Linked DNA regions of Homo sapiens: region 2 is linked to region 1. Evidence: promoter capture Hi-C in 16 types of primary human blood cells and fetal thymus (Javierre and others, 2016). All regions are on one chromosome and are shown on one strand. The core of a region is centred on a gene start or on the middle of the fragment in contact, and the rest is flanking DNA. Distances in the headings are between cores, read along the strand shown.

What was found. The method cuts DNA at HindIII sites, captures the fragments that hold promoters and counts their contacts. A CHiCAGO score of 5 or more calls a contact.
Region 2: a fragment that was not itself captured here is called in contact with the fragment with the promoter of VIL1 in region 1 in 1 of 17 cell types (non-activated CD4 T cells); the score reaches 5.2 in non-activated CD4 T cells.

Annotation. Positions count from the first base shown.
Region 1 is chr2:218,415,875-218,422,030 of GRCh38, reverse strand. It overlaps VIL1 (villin 1), which reads right to left and starts at 2,908. Exons shown (of 20, transcript NM_007127.3): 1 at 2,863-2,908. The HindIII fragment of the contact is 19,335 bases long and covers 1-6,156 here.
Region 2 is chr2:219,244,832-219,250,987 of GRCh38, reverse strand. STK16 (serine/threonine kinase 16) reads right to left here and starts at 5,509. Exons shown (of 8, transcript NM_001330213.2): 1 at 5,192-5,509; 2 at 4,903-5,092; 3 at 4,112-4,331; 4 at 3,742-3,875; 5 at 3,453-3,573; 6 at 3,231-3,326; 7 at 2,674-2,795; 8 at 651-2,567. The coding sequence starts at 4,988. The coding sequence ends at 2,429. It overlaps TUBA4A (tubulin alpha 4a), which reads left to right. Exons shown (of 4, transcript NM_006000.3): 4 at 1-1,278. The coding sequence ends at 636. GLB1L (galactosidase beta 1 like) reads left to right here and starts at 5,544. Exons shown (of 17, transcript NM_001286423.2): 1 at 5,544-5,759. RefSeq lists enhancers at 756-875, 916-1,005, 5,368-5,797, 5,246-5,828. The HindIII fragment of the contact is 213 bases long and covers 1,144-1,356 here.

The DNA of each region.
Region 1 (6,156 bases), core at 1,659-4,158:
CCACCCGCCTCAGCCTCCTAAATTGCTGGAATTACAGGCGTGAGCCACCGCGCCGGGCCCCGTCCCTCTTTTTCTTTGACACTCACTAGCTGTATGAACGTAGACTTCCCTTCTTCATCTATGAGCTGAGGGGGTCAACTTAGGGGGTTAACTAAATCGATGATCTCTAAAGCCTCACCCAGGGACATGCTGATTCCAGGGTTAACTGGCAGCAAGAGGAATAGAGGGTGGACATGAGCAGGCACTTCTTGCTTATCAGAGAGGGGATTCAGGGGAGCAGAGACTTGAAAAAGCCAGCGCTCCCCCTCCCCAGAGAGAAATCAGGATTGGGGCCAGCCCCCACAGGCCAAAGGTGGGCAAGGGGACTCAGGAGTGGAAGCTCTGAGATGTGGCCCCCCTACCTGGTGTATACCCTCCAGATGCTCCTGCCCTCTACCCATGTTGGTCAGAGCAGATGCCTCTCCTCCACCCCTTGGTAGGGCCTCCTCCTCACTTCTCCTGTCTTCCCTGAACTTCCAGGAAGACCAGGGCCCGTCACTTCCCCCAGCCCTGCCACCGTGGACTCTGGTTTGGATTTGAGTTGTCTCCTCCTTCAGTTTTAATTCACTGGCTTCCTCCACTCCTGGTACTTTCTCTTCTGTGTCCCCAGACCAGGGAAGGGCATGGTCACCCCAAGACCCCAAAGTCAGCCATCTGTGCAGCATCCTGGACTCTTTCTGCTCCTGCCCTTCCATCCACCTAAACTCCCTTGAGTCTCCCCACTACACACAGCCCCCTGGCCCCTCTCTGCTGGCACTCTGCCCTCTAGAAATGCCACACTGCTGGCGGCCCCACCCCCATGCTGCCTCTCACCCCACGCCTGCTTGCACTGCTCCAATATGGAAAGCTCTCCCCACCTTTCTGACACTAACATGCTCTTCTAGACTCAATTTAGATCTCATTTCTTCCAGGAGACCTTCCTAGAATCCTCAGCTGGACAAGGGGCCCCTCTGCATCCTGGACTGTCCCTTCTCTTGGCCCCCTGACCACATGGTGATGAAATAACCTGTTTGTAAGTTGGAGGTCCCTGAGCTCCAAGACCTAGATATGTTTGTCTTTGCAGCCCCCAGCTCCTAGCACATAGTAGGTGCTCAACAAATACTCATGGGCTGGGCGTGGTGGCTCACGCGTGTAATCCCAGCACTTTGGGAGGCCGAGGCAGGCGGATCACGAGGTCAGGAGATCAAGACCATCCTGGCTAACACGGTGAAACCCTGTCTCTACTAAAAATACAAAAAATTAGCCGGGCGAGATGGTGGGCGCCTGTAGTCCCAGCTACGCGGGAGGCTGAGGCAGGAGAATGGCGTGAACCCAGGGGGTGGAGCCTGCAGTGAGCTGAGATCACGCCACTGCACTCCAGCCTGGATGAAAGAGTGAGACTCCTTCTCAAAAAAAAAACAAAAAAAAAAAAAACAAATACTCATGATGCTGAAAGGCTGAACTGTGGGATGGAAGGAGGACCCTCCCAGGGCACTGGAGGGGTTTGGGCTCCCACTGTCTGCAGGTCCATCTTGCCTTTCTTTCTTTTTTCTTTTTTTCTTTTCTTTTTTTTTTTTTTTTTTTGAGACAGAGTCTCACTCTGTCACCCAGGCTGGAGTGCAATGGTGCAATTCTGGCTCACTGTCATCTCCGCCTCCTGGGTTCAAGCGATTCTCGTGCCTCAGCCTCCCGAGTAGCTGGGACTATAGGCGTGCGCGAGCACACCCAGCTAATTATGTATTTTTAGTAGAAACGGGGTTTCACTATGTTGGTCAGGCTGGTCTTGAAGTCCTGACCTCAAGTGATCCACCCCACTTGGCCTCCCAAAGTGCTGGGATTCCAAGCATGAGGCTCTGCACCTGGCCCACCATGCCTTTCTTATCTGAGCCCTGTTGTACTTGAGTTGCGGCTCTGTTGTAAGTGGGGTGCTGCCACGGCTCCTAGTTCCCAGTCGTGCAGCTCTGAGCTGGACAGGAATGTGGTGGGGCAGTGGGGGTGAAGTCCCACCCCTCAGACAAAGGACATCCTCCTGCTTCCCAGGCTCATGATAGAAGAGGGAATGGACACCCGCCAAGACCCTCCAGCCCAAAGGCTCTGCCCCAGCAGATGATGTCCCGAGAAGACAGCAGCCAGTGTGTCCTCAGAGCCTGGTCTGCAGCTAGCTCCCATTCCTAGTTCTGCTGAATGGGCCCACAGTGGCTGGGGAGGCCAATGGGGCAGCTCCGGGTAGAGGGGAGATGGGGCAGAGGTGCATGCTAGGGTGGCCCGGCATGGCCCAGGACCTAAGGCCCTGCCACCTCCAGCCCCTTGCCTCTGCCCTTGCCTCTGTGTGTGCCCATTCAATTGCTGGTGGCTGTTGCTCATATGCTAGGAGCCAGGAGGCAGGACCCGGAGGTCCCAGGAGTGTCAGAGGAATGGTGACACAAAGAAAAAAACACTTCAGATGAAGAACGCACGGGCAAAGAGATGAGCTGGTGGGGAGGGGGCTCGGGGAGTGAGGTCAGGGAGACCAACTAGTCCCGGTCTGCCCAGCACTGTCCTGGTTTTAACTCTAGAAGTTCCAGGGCAATTGGGATGGTGACACCCAAAGTGGGATGGGGCTAGCCACAGGTAGGAGACTGAGAGAGCCATTGTCTGGGGCAGGGCCTGCAAAAGTCTCTCCCTGGAGGCCCAGGGCAGACACACTGGGCTCCCAGCACTTCTCACGCTATCCAGAGTGTCAAGCCTCCCCTTCGAGCCCGTACCAAGGTGCTCCAGGAGGCCCCAAGTTGCCCGAGAAAAGCAGAGGACCCCGTCCCCTCGCACCACCTAAGGTCTCCATGTGTTCCCACCAGGTTGCCTTACCTGTCTTGGGGAGGCAGCTGCCACCTGGGAGATCTCAGGGAATTGTGGCAAGCTGGCTGCAGAAGAGCGACCTTTGTCCCCACCCCCCCTCCTCTAGGAACTGCCTTCACCATATAAGGGAAGATAGGGCCCCAGAGAGGTGAGGGGGTGGGGAGGCAGGTGCTGCCAGGTCCCTGGGAGCCCAGAGCCCTCCACAGCCTGACAATGAGAGCTGATGTGCCCCACCCTTGGCTTTTTTTTTTTTTTGAGCCTCACTCTGTCATTCAGGCTGGAGTGCAGTGGTATGAATTCGACTCACTGCAACCTCCGCCTCCCAAGTTCAAGTGATTCTCCTGCCTCAGCTTCCCAAGTAACTGGGACTACAGACATGTGCCACCATGCCTGGCTAATTTTTGTATATTTAGCAGAGACAGGGTTTCACCATGTTGGCCAGGCTGGACTTGAACTCCTGACCTCAAATGATCCACCTGCCTCGACCTCCCAAAGTGCTGGGATTACAGGTGTGAGGCCCGGCGCCCAGCCCCTCCCTTGGCTTCTGAGTGAGCAAGGGATGGGGTGCTTTTCTGCCCAGGGCCCAGGCCCTCACCACAGGCAGACAGCACTGTCCAGGTAGGGTCAGCGGCGCCTGAACCTTTCCTCCTACCAACCAAGAGAAGGAGGCTCAGCTGTCCTCCCACCTGCCCTGGGGTGAATGGTTCATGGAGAAAGAGAGGCAGGACTCTAGGGTTGCAGAAGCCCCAAACCCAGGAATGCAGGGACTTATACTCAGGGCCCCTCCAGAACAGATGGGAGGTCTCTTAGAGGTCTCCTAGAGGTCTCTTCTCAGCATGACCCTCACTTAGCAAGGGCCCCAGTGAGCACAACTGCTCCTCCTCTCCACCCTTAGGGGCACTGGCTCCACCTGGAGTGTTTTTTTTGTTTTCGTTTTTTTTGCTGAGATGGAGTCTGTCTCTGTCGCCCAGGCTGGAGTGCAGTGGCGTGATCTCATCTCACTGCATCCTCCGCCTCCTGGGTTCAAGTGATTCTCCTGCCTCAGCCTCCCGAGTAGCTGGGATTACAGCCGCACACCACCACGCCCAGCTAATTTTTGTATTTTTAGTAGAGACGGGGTTTCACCATGTCGGCCAGGCTGGTCTTGAACTCTTGACCTCGTGATCCGCCCACCTCGGCCTCCCAAAGTGCTGGGATTACAGGCGTGAGCCACTGCACCCGGCCCACCTGGAGTTTTTATGAGATGCCATAAACCAGTGCCTTTGAACTCTGTTCTGCTACCCTCTCCCAGAAGCCAAGGTTTCCATGTCTGACCCCTGACCCTAGGGGATCCATCTCACTCAGGCAGGAAAGTTGTGCAGCCAACTCCAGCGTGGATCTCGCTGAGAAACCAGCTTCACACGCAAACTCAGCACCTTGGGCAGCTGCCTCCCAGACTGCAGAAATTCTCCTATCACCTGTGAAGCCTGGTCCTTAGGAGGGTGACGTGAAGTGGGCTGGGTGAGGGCAGTACGTCCTTCTCATCACAGCCTCCCAAGAGTTCTGGAGACCAAATGTACAGTAGTCCCCCCCTTATCCAACGGGGGATACATTCCAGGACCCGCAGTGGATGCCTTAAAACCTCGGATCGTACCGAACCTGGCTGCCATCAGCTGGAGCATGTTTCTGTTCGTGTCTTCCACCCACAAATTGAAGCCCCTTCTATTTTCATTAGCACTTATCCTGCACTGTGGCTGCATTTTGCAGTTTGAGGTACACCAGCAAAATTAACACAAATTTCTGTTTCCTTCTTCACAATTTCATGAACAGAAGATGCATTCTTATCATAGATCTTAGCAACCTCAGTATATGATGTTTTTTGTTCTTTCCTTATTGAGAACTATTACCTTTTCATTTAAAGGAAACATTTTATGGCTTCTTTTTGGCACTTCCAAATTGCCAGCATCGCTACTCTTGCATTATTTAGTAAAATAAGTGTTACTTTGGGTGGGGGGTTGTCTTTATTTTTGTTTTTTGGAGATGAAGTCTCGCTCTGTCACCGAGGCTGGAGTGCAATGGCATGATCTCGGCTCACAGCAACATCTGCCTCCTGGGTTCAAGCAATTCTCCCATCTCAGCCTCCCGAGTAGCTGGACTACAGGTGCATACCACCACACCCAGCTAATTTTTCTTGTATTTTTATCAGAGACATGGTTTCACCATGTTGGCCAGGCTGGTCTCAAACTCCTAACCTCAAGTGATCCGCCCACCTAGGCCTCCCAAAGTGCTGGGATTACAGGCGTGAGCCACTGCGCCCGGCCCAATAAGGGTTACTTTGAACACAAGCCCTGCAATGCCATGACAGTGGATCTGATAGCCCACACGGCTGCTAAATGCCCATCAGGGAGCATGCAGCATGTGGAGGTAGTGGACAAAGGGATGACTCACGTTTCAGGTGGGATGGAGTGGGGCGGTGGGAGATCCCATCACGCTACTGAGAATACTGTGTAATTTAAAACTTATGAATGGTTTATTTCTAGAATTTTCCATGTAGTATTTTCAGAACATGGTTGACTATGAGGTACCTGAATTGGTGGATAAAGGGAGACTGCTGTGTGTTTGCGCACATGTGGGCATGTGTGCACTATATGTGTGTGCACACGCTCATGTGTTGTCTGGAAAGAGGAGTAAACACTGGAGTTGCTATTTTGTTTCTTTTAAAAAAAAAAATCGCTGGGTGTGGTGGTGCACACCTGTAATCCCCGCTACAAGGGAGGCTGAAGCACAATAATTGCTTGAACCCGGGAGGCAGAGGTTGCAGTGAACTGAGATTGTGCCACTGCCCTCCAGCCTGGGTGACGAAGTGAGGCTCTGTTTTGAAAAATATACACATATATAAATATAAAAATAAAAATATATAATCCTGCCTCCTATGTCACAGGTTATGAAAAAAATAACACTTTCTTGTGAATAAAAAGGAGTATATATATATATATATATATATATAGAGAGAGAGAGAGAGAGAGAGAGAGAGAGAGAGATACACTCGATTACAAGGACAAGAAAAAGGAAGGTAAAAACTCACCTATATTTTCAATATAGAGATATTCTCCAGATAAATCACTGTCACTGAATTGTTTTGGAATATTTCTTTCAAGTCATTGTCCAGTACAGGTAGATACCTGTCTGTCTGCATGTTCATATATATATATATATATATATATATATATATATAGAGAGAGAGAGAGAGAGAGAGAGAGAGAGAGAGAGAGAGAGAGAGAGAGAGATGGAGTCGCACCCTGTCACCCAGGCTGGAGTGCAGCG
Region 2 (6,156 bases), core at 1-2,500, 830 kb before region 1:
ATCACAGCTTCTCTGCGCTTTGACGGGGCCCTCAATGTGGACCTGACAGAGTTCCAGACCAACCTGGTGCCCTACCCTCGCATCCACTTCCCCCTGGCCACCTATGCACCAGTCATCTCTGCAGAAAAGGCATACCACGAGCAGCTGTCGGTGGCAGAGATCACCAATGCCTGCTTTGAGCCTGCCAACCAGATGGTAAAGTGTGATCCCCGGCACGGCAAGTACATGGCCTGCTGCCTGCTGTACCGTGGAGATGTGGTGCCCAAGGATGTCAACGCTGCCATTGCCGCCATCAAGACCAAGCGCAGCATTCAGTTTGTGGACTGGTGCCCCACAGGCTTCAAGGTTGGTATCAACTACCAGCCTCCCACTGTGGTGCCTGGGGGTGACCTGGCCAAGGTGCAGCGTGCCGTGTGCATGCTGAGCAACACGACCGCCATCGCCGAGGCCTGGGCCCGCCTGGACCACAAGTTCGACCTGATGTATGCCAAGAGGGCGTTTGTGCACTGGTATGTGGGTGAGGGCATGGAGGAGGGTGAGTTCTCCGAGGCCCGTGAGGATATGGCTGCCCTGGAGAAGGATTATGAGGAGGTGGGCATCGACTCCTATGAGGACGAGGATGAGGGAGAAGAATAAAGCAGCTGCCTGGAGCCTATTCACTATGTTTATTGCAAAATCCTTTCGAAATAAACAGTTTCCTTGCACGGTTTCTTGTTCCCTCTGAGTGCTTGAGCTTCTGCTGCCTTCCCCTTCATGCTGCTGCTGCTCTGTTTGCTGTTCATGACCCTTATCCCTTCCATCGCTGAAGGTGAGACCTGCAAAGGGGTTCTTGCCAGGCCCAGGAAGCATAACCCCAGGGACTTTAAATTGAAGTCCTAGGGTTACTCAGTATAGGGAGGAAATGAGGACCAAAATCCAGGCACAAACTGTTGAAGGATGAGTCTTCAGCTCCTTTCCAAGTAGGAGTATAATCCAGTGGTTTCTGTCTTTGAAAGTTAGACTGCTACCCTGTTCTTCCTGCTGCCTCTACATTTACCAACTCTGGAAGCAAGGCTTGGCCCAGGCTCCTCTGTGCATTATGAGGGTTTGGGAGTGGGGCTGGGCTGGCCCAGAGTTCCTGGGCATGGAGCCACGTCATAAGCTTGGGGGATGGGAGGGAACACAGGCGATCTCCTAGAGTTGTTTGTGCCACTGCACCTCTGAGCAGCTTTGCATAGCTTCCTGTCTTGCTGCTTTGCTGGAGCTGGGGCTGTGCCATTAAAAGTCAGGTCATCTCCCCTCTGTTTGTGATTTCTTTCTGGCCTCAGCCTCTGTGCTAGCTAGTGGGAGACTCCTGCTAGGGCCCTGGGGAAAGCTTCAACTTTGCTAACAGGAGCCCCAGGCCCCATGCTGATGTCATACTGTGGGGTAGACATGGTTCGGGGGAGGAGGCTTGGATCACAAAAGAGCAGGAGATGCCAACCCTGCCCTTGCCTTTCCTCCCTGGTGATTCAGGGAACAGAGCCCTTCCCTAGGGAACAGGTTTGAAGCCCAGCTAAGACAGGGCCCCTGTTTACTCAGCAGAGTAGGCAGGAAGTGGCAGCTGGATACTGCCACACCACACTGCCTCATTAATCATTAACCATGTATGAGCTTGAACGATCAGGGAGACACAGGCCAAAACAGCTGCCGCTGCCACCTCCACTCCCCTCGCCCCTAGGCTGAGGATGGGAGACCTGTAATCTACCTGTCTCAAAGCTTCCTCAGGTGTCTCCACCCAGAGGCCCTTGCCTAGCAAACCGGCTAGGCAGCTTTGACTAAGCTACTCACCCCAGGAGTGAAGGAAGGAAAGAACTAGTTGAGTGTTTTTAGGGGGCCCTAGTTCTTGACACAGGCAGATGCCAGCTTGAGCCCAAGCAGCTTTAAGTTTTGATCTAAGACAAGCTAGAACTGTCCACTGCTAACCAACCTCCTGTAGAATGAAGTCACACCATTGCCGACTCTGCACCATTCCTCCTTCCCAGGCAGTTCGCCTGAAATGGCAACCTGACTTTGGGCCCCTTGCACCTCTTCTCTCACTCCAGGAACACTGAGACTAAGATCTACACCAACCTGCTTCCACTTTATTCTTGTTTACACATTCTCCTGCTCCCAGATTTGGAGTCAGAACACTATGTGAGCTCAACAGTCCTGCTCAGAGCCATGTTCCATATCCCACCAGTTTCCCTTTTCCCAACCCCCACCCACCCCCACTCAGTAAGTCCCCTTGCCCAGGTTTTGCTCTTGGAGGGAAGAAAGCAGAAGAAAAGATGCAGGACTGAGATGATTGTCCTGACCCCGCTACCCCCAAGTGTAAGAGAAGTCCTGGATGGAATGGGTGGTGATTCCAATGAGGGATGGGAACCTCTTTCCAAGGCACAAGGGGCCATCTTCTCAACATGCTGCTTTTTCAGATTTGGGTAGTATGTTGGCCAGGAGCTGGGGGCTGAAGCGCCTCCAGCTGACTGAGGAGGAGAGGAATGTGAGGACGCTGATGCGGGTCCACGGTCATCATCGAGTTCAGGAGCTGCCGCAATGCTGAAGAATGCCTGTGGAGGGAGGAGCCCAGGGTGACCGGATGACACCTATCTGTCAACTCAGCTAATACCAGGGGGGAGTCTGAAACACTTGATGCCCTATTCGTTGCTCACTCACCTGGGGCTTTGTGGGATGCTGAGTTGGTTCTGCACAGCAAGGGCCACACTGTCACCCTTTTGGAACACCATGTCATAAGGGCCTTCCCCAAACATCATGGCATATAGCACGCAGCCTAGGGACTGAGCATAACTTGATTAGTCCCTAGAAGGGGACCAGTGGAGGTGACATCTCTCCCTTTACTTCTGTGGTAAAAGGAGACTCCATAAGCTAAAAAGAATACGCTGACCTCAGCCACATGGCACCACCAGGGTCCAGAGAAACTGCCAGTCAGCTGGAGGCCTCCGCAGCCCCTGTTTAGCTTAGCCCCTGCTTAGCCAGTGCCTTCACTACTGACACTGAGCTGTACTCACCTTGTTCAGGGGCACAGATTATACCACATCCGGTACAACTGGGTACAGTATCAGTGACATTTCCCAGGAAGGAAGTTGAAGTGGATGGGGACATATTGTGGTTCCTGGCGCCCCATGCAACAGAAACCAACAACCTACTCTACTCCACGGTGGGTACAGAGCCACAGCCCTCCCTACCCAGATACCCACCCACATGCTCCTCACCCAGACATCAGTCCGCTCATCGATGACACAGTGACTCTGCACAGAGAAGAGCTCTGGGGCTCGGTAGGAGATGGTGCACCGCTGGGCTGCCCAGTCCTGGAACAGTGATCCCAGAGCTCAAAAGTGGGGCACAGGTCATGGTCATGTGACCAAACTGGGACATGCACCAGAAGGGGTGGGAATGGGGAACAGGTGAGAAAAGGAACCTGGAGACTCTTTTACCTGCAGGGTCAGAGCCTGGCGGGAGCCCTCCACATGGATGCATGCTTGATTCATGGAACCCAAGTCCATTAAAACTGGCTGCCCCTCATCTCCAAGCAATATATTGGTGGGCTTCAAGTCTCTGTAGAGAAGTAGAAGTGACCTATGAGCATCTCTGGACAGGAAGGCTGGAATCCCAGCAAGCAAAAGAATCATACAGGCTGTTTCTTGGGAGAACAGAGACCTCCCATGTCTCCTGGTGAGGCTCTTCCTCTGGGCCCCAGCAAGCACACAGGGTCCTCCCACTGACCTGTGGGCATAACCCTTGGCATGAATGGCCTCAAGGCCTCTGCAGATCCCCAGCAGCAGCCAAAGGATTTGATCCTCGGTCAGGAAGTTGCCTTTGTCCTTCAGCCTTTCTATCTCATTCCACAGCGTACCTCTCTGCAACACAAGTTTCCCTACAGTTGGAGATGTTTTTGGAGCCTCTGCTCCTTAGGCCTGATCCCTTCCCTATGTCAAAGCCTATCAGCCCTTTCATGATACACACCTCAAACTCAAAATCTAAAGTGGCCAAACCCAGGACATGGTCCCTGCTTCCTAACATGCTGGACTGCTCACACAGCCCTTGAGTAGGTGGCTCTGCTGCAACCCCCTCCATAACCAGGAGTCTTTCTGACCTTGAAGAATGGTAGCAGCAGCCAGGCCTCATGCTTAGCACCCCGTTCCCTCAGACAGTAAGCCACGAGGCGAAGGATGTTGGGGTGATTGAAGAGGCGATGCATGTCGGCTTCTCGCTGGGCCTCCTCCCGGTCCTGCTGCTCGTGACACAGGATTCGCTTCAGGGCGTAGAAGTGTCCATCATGTAACCCTTCCACTAGGTCCACATAGCTGAACCCACTGTGGGCCAAAGGGGTCAATAAAGGGCCATGGTCATCTCCCACATGGCTTGGACCTAGAGAAATTTCCTGGTGGGGAGTGGGGTGTCCTTCCCATTTAGCAGAAACCTTCCCAAGATGTGGCTCTAAGAGAAATCTGAAGAATATTACACCGTGAGCTCCTCAGGAGCAGAGATATAGAAATCTTTGAGGTCCTATGGTCGTAATAGAGACCTCTGCACTTGACAGATGCTAAATAAATAATAGCCAACACTTATCAAGTACTTGTCAACCCCGCATTGGGTGAGACATTTTATACACATTATCTCATTTAATCCTCACAACTCCATCAGTGAGGGATAATAATCATCTCCATTAAGCTGATGAAAAAAACATGGTTTATCAAGGTCACACGAGGTGGATTTAGCAGGCCTGGCTCCAGAATCCACCTTCTTGATACTGTGTAGCTAGGTTCTGTCAGGTGAGAGAGGACAGGGATAGGGATAAAACCCTTGTGCCCCAAGCATATGCACACCGCTGTCCTTCAATGATCATAAACTTGAGGACTAGTTAACTGACTTCCAAACACTCACCCCTCCCCCAGTTTCTGGATGAAGAGGTAGCGCTTATTGTCAATGATGACAGTTCCCCGAGAGCAGACACACAGCGCGTGGCCCATAATGTCTCAGTCATCCTCTTCAAGGACGGTCTGAGGCTACCGAAGAGCTCGTCCAGGGTGAGTGGGCTCTTCCAGGAGATGCGCTGGGGGCCCAGCGGATCATGCTGGAAAGAAAACAACGGCAGGGTCACAGGTCCGGCACAATCCAGACGACCCATGAAGTACCAATGCGGAGAGCTCAGGCCCAGGTCTCTGGAACCTACACTATAGTGTAGAGAAAACAGGCCCTGCTCCGTCGCCAGCTTCAGGGGTGGGGTCAGGCGCCTTACGGCCTCAGGACACACAGCGGCTACCGGGCCACTTCCTCCAACCCCAGCCCATCTTTGGGCAGCCCCCGCTCCCACGCCCATCGCGCCGCAAAAGCAGAGCATAGCGTAGTTTCAGAGGACGTGCGAGGCTCAGGCCCACTCCTGGCAGGGCCCACCCCGGTCTAGGAGCCCAGAGCCCGGGATGGGCCATCTGCACTGCCGGACTGACCTGGCTCGGGCCAGAGAGAAGCGCCACCGACCGGAAGCAGTGCTGACATCATCAGTCCGCGCCGGCGTAACGGCCCGCGGTATCTCAGCAACCGCTGGGCATCCGGAGGATGTGGGGACGCGGAGCTGAGAGGCTCCGGGCTAGCTAGGTGTAGGGGTGGACGGGTCCCAGGACCCTGGTGAGGGTTCTCTACTTGGCCTTCGGTGGGGGTCAAGACGCAGGCACCTACGCCAAAGGGGAGCAAAGCCGGGCTCGGCCCGAGGCCCCCAGGACCTCCATCTCCCAATGTTGGAGGTAGGAGGCTTCATACCTCTGGCGCTCTGGGGCAGAAAGCGGCCAACTACACTGCAGCCTGGAGGGGGATCCAGTGAGGGGCGGGTCTGGTGGCCTGGTCTCCTGATCCCGTACAACCTTCTGGGCTCTGGCCTGTATCCCACTACCCCTAGTCTCAGTGGTTAAGAGCTCAGGCTTGTGAACCAGACTTCCAGTTTCTAAATTGAGTGTTAATAGCATGCTAGCTGTGTAACCTCGGGCAAGTTACTTAACCTCTCGGATCCTTACTTTTGGTAGCTGTAAAATAGGTATAATAGTACATAAGGTTAAGTAGCTTAACTGTGAGGCCAGACTGACTAGTTCAAATGACAGCTCCGTTAACGTAGTTGTGTGACCTTGGACAGGCTACTTAATGTTT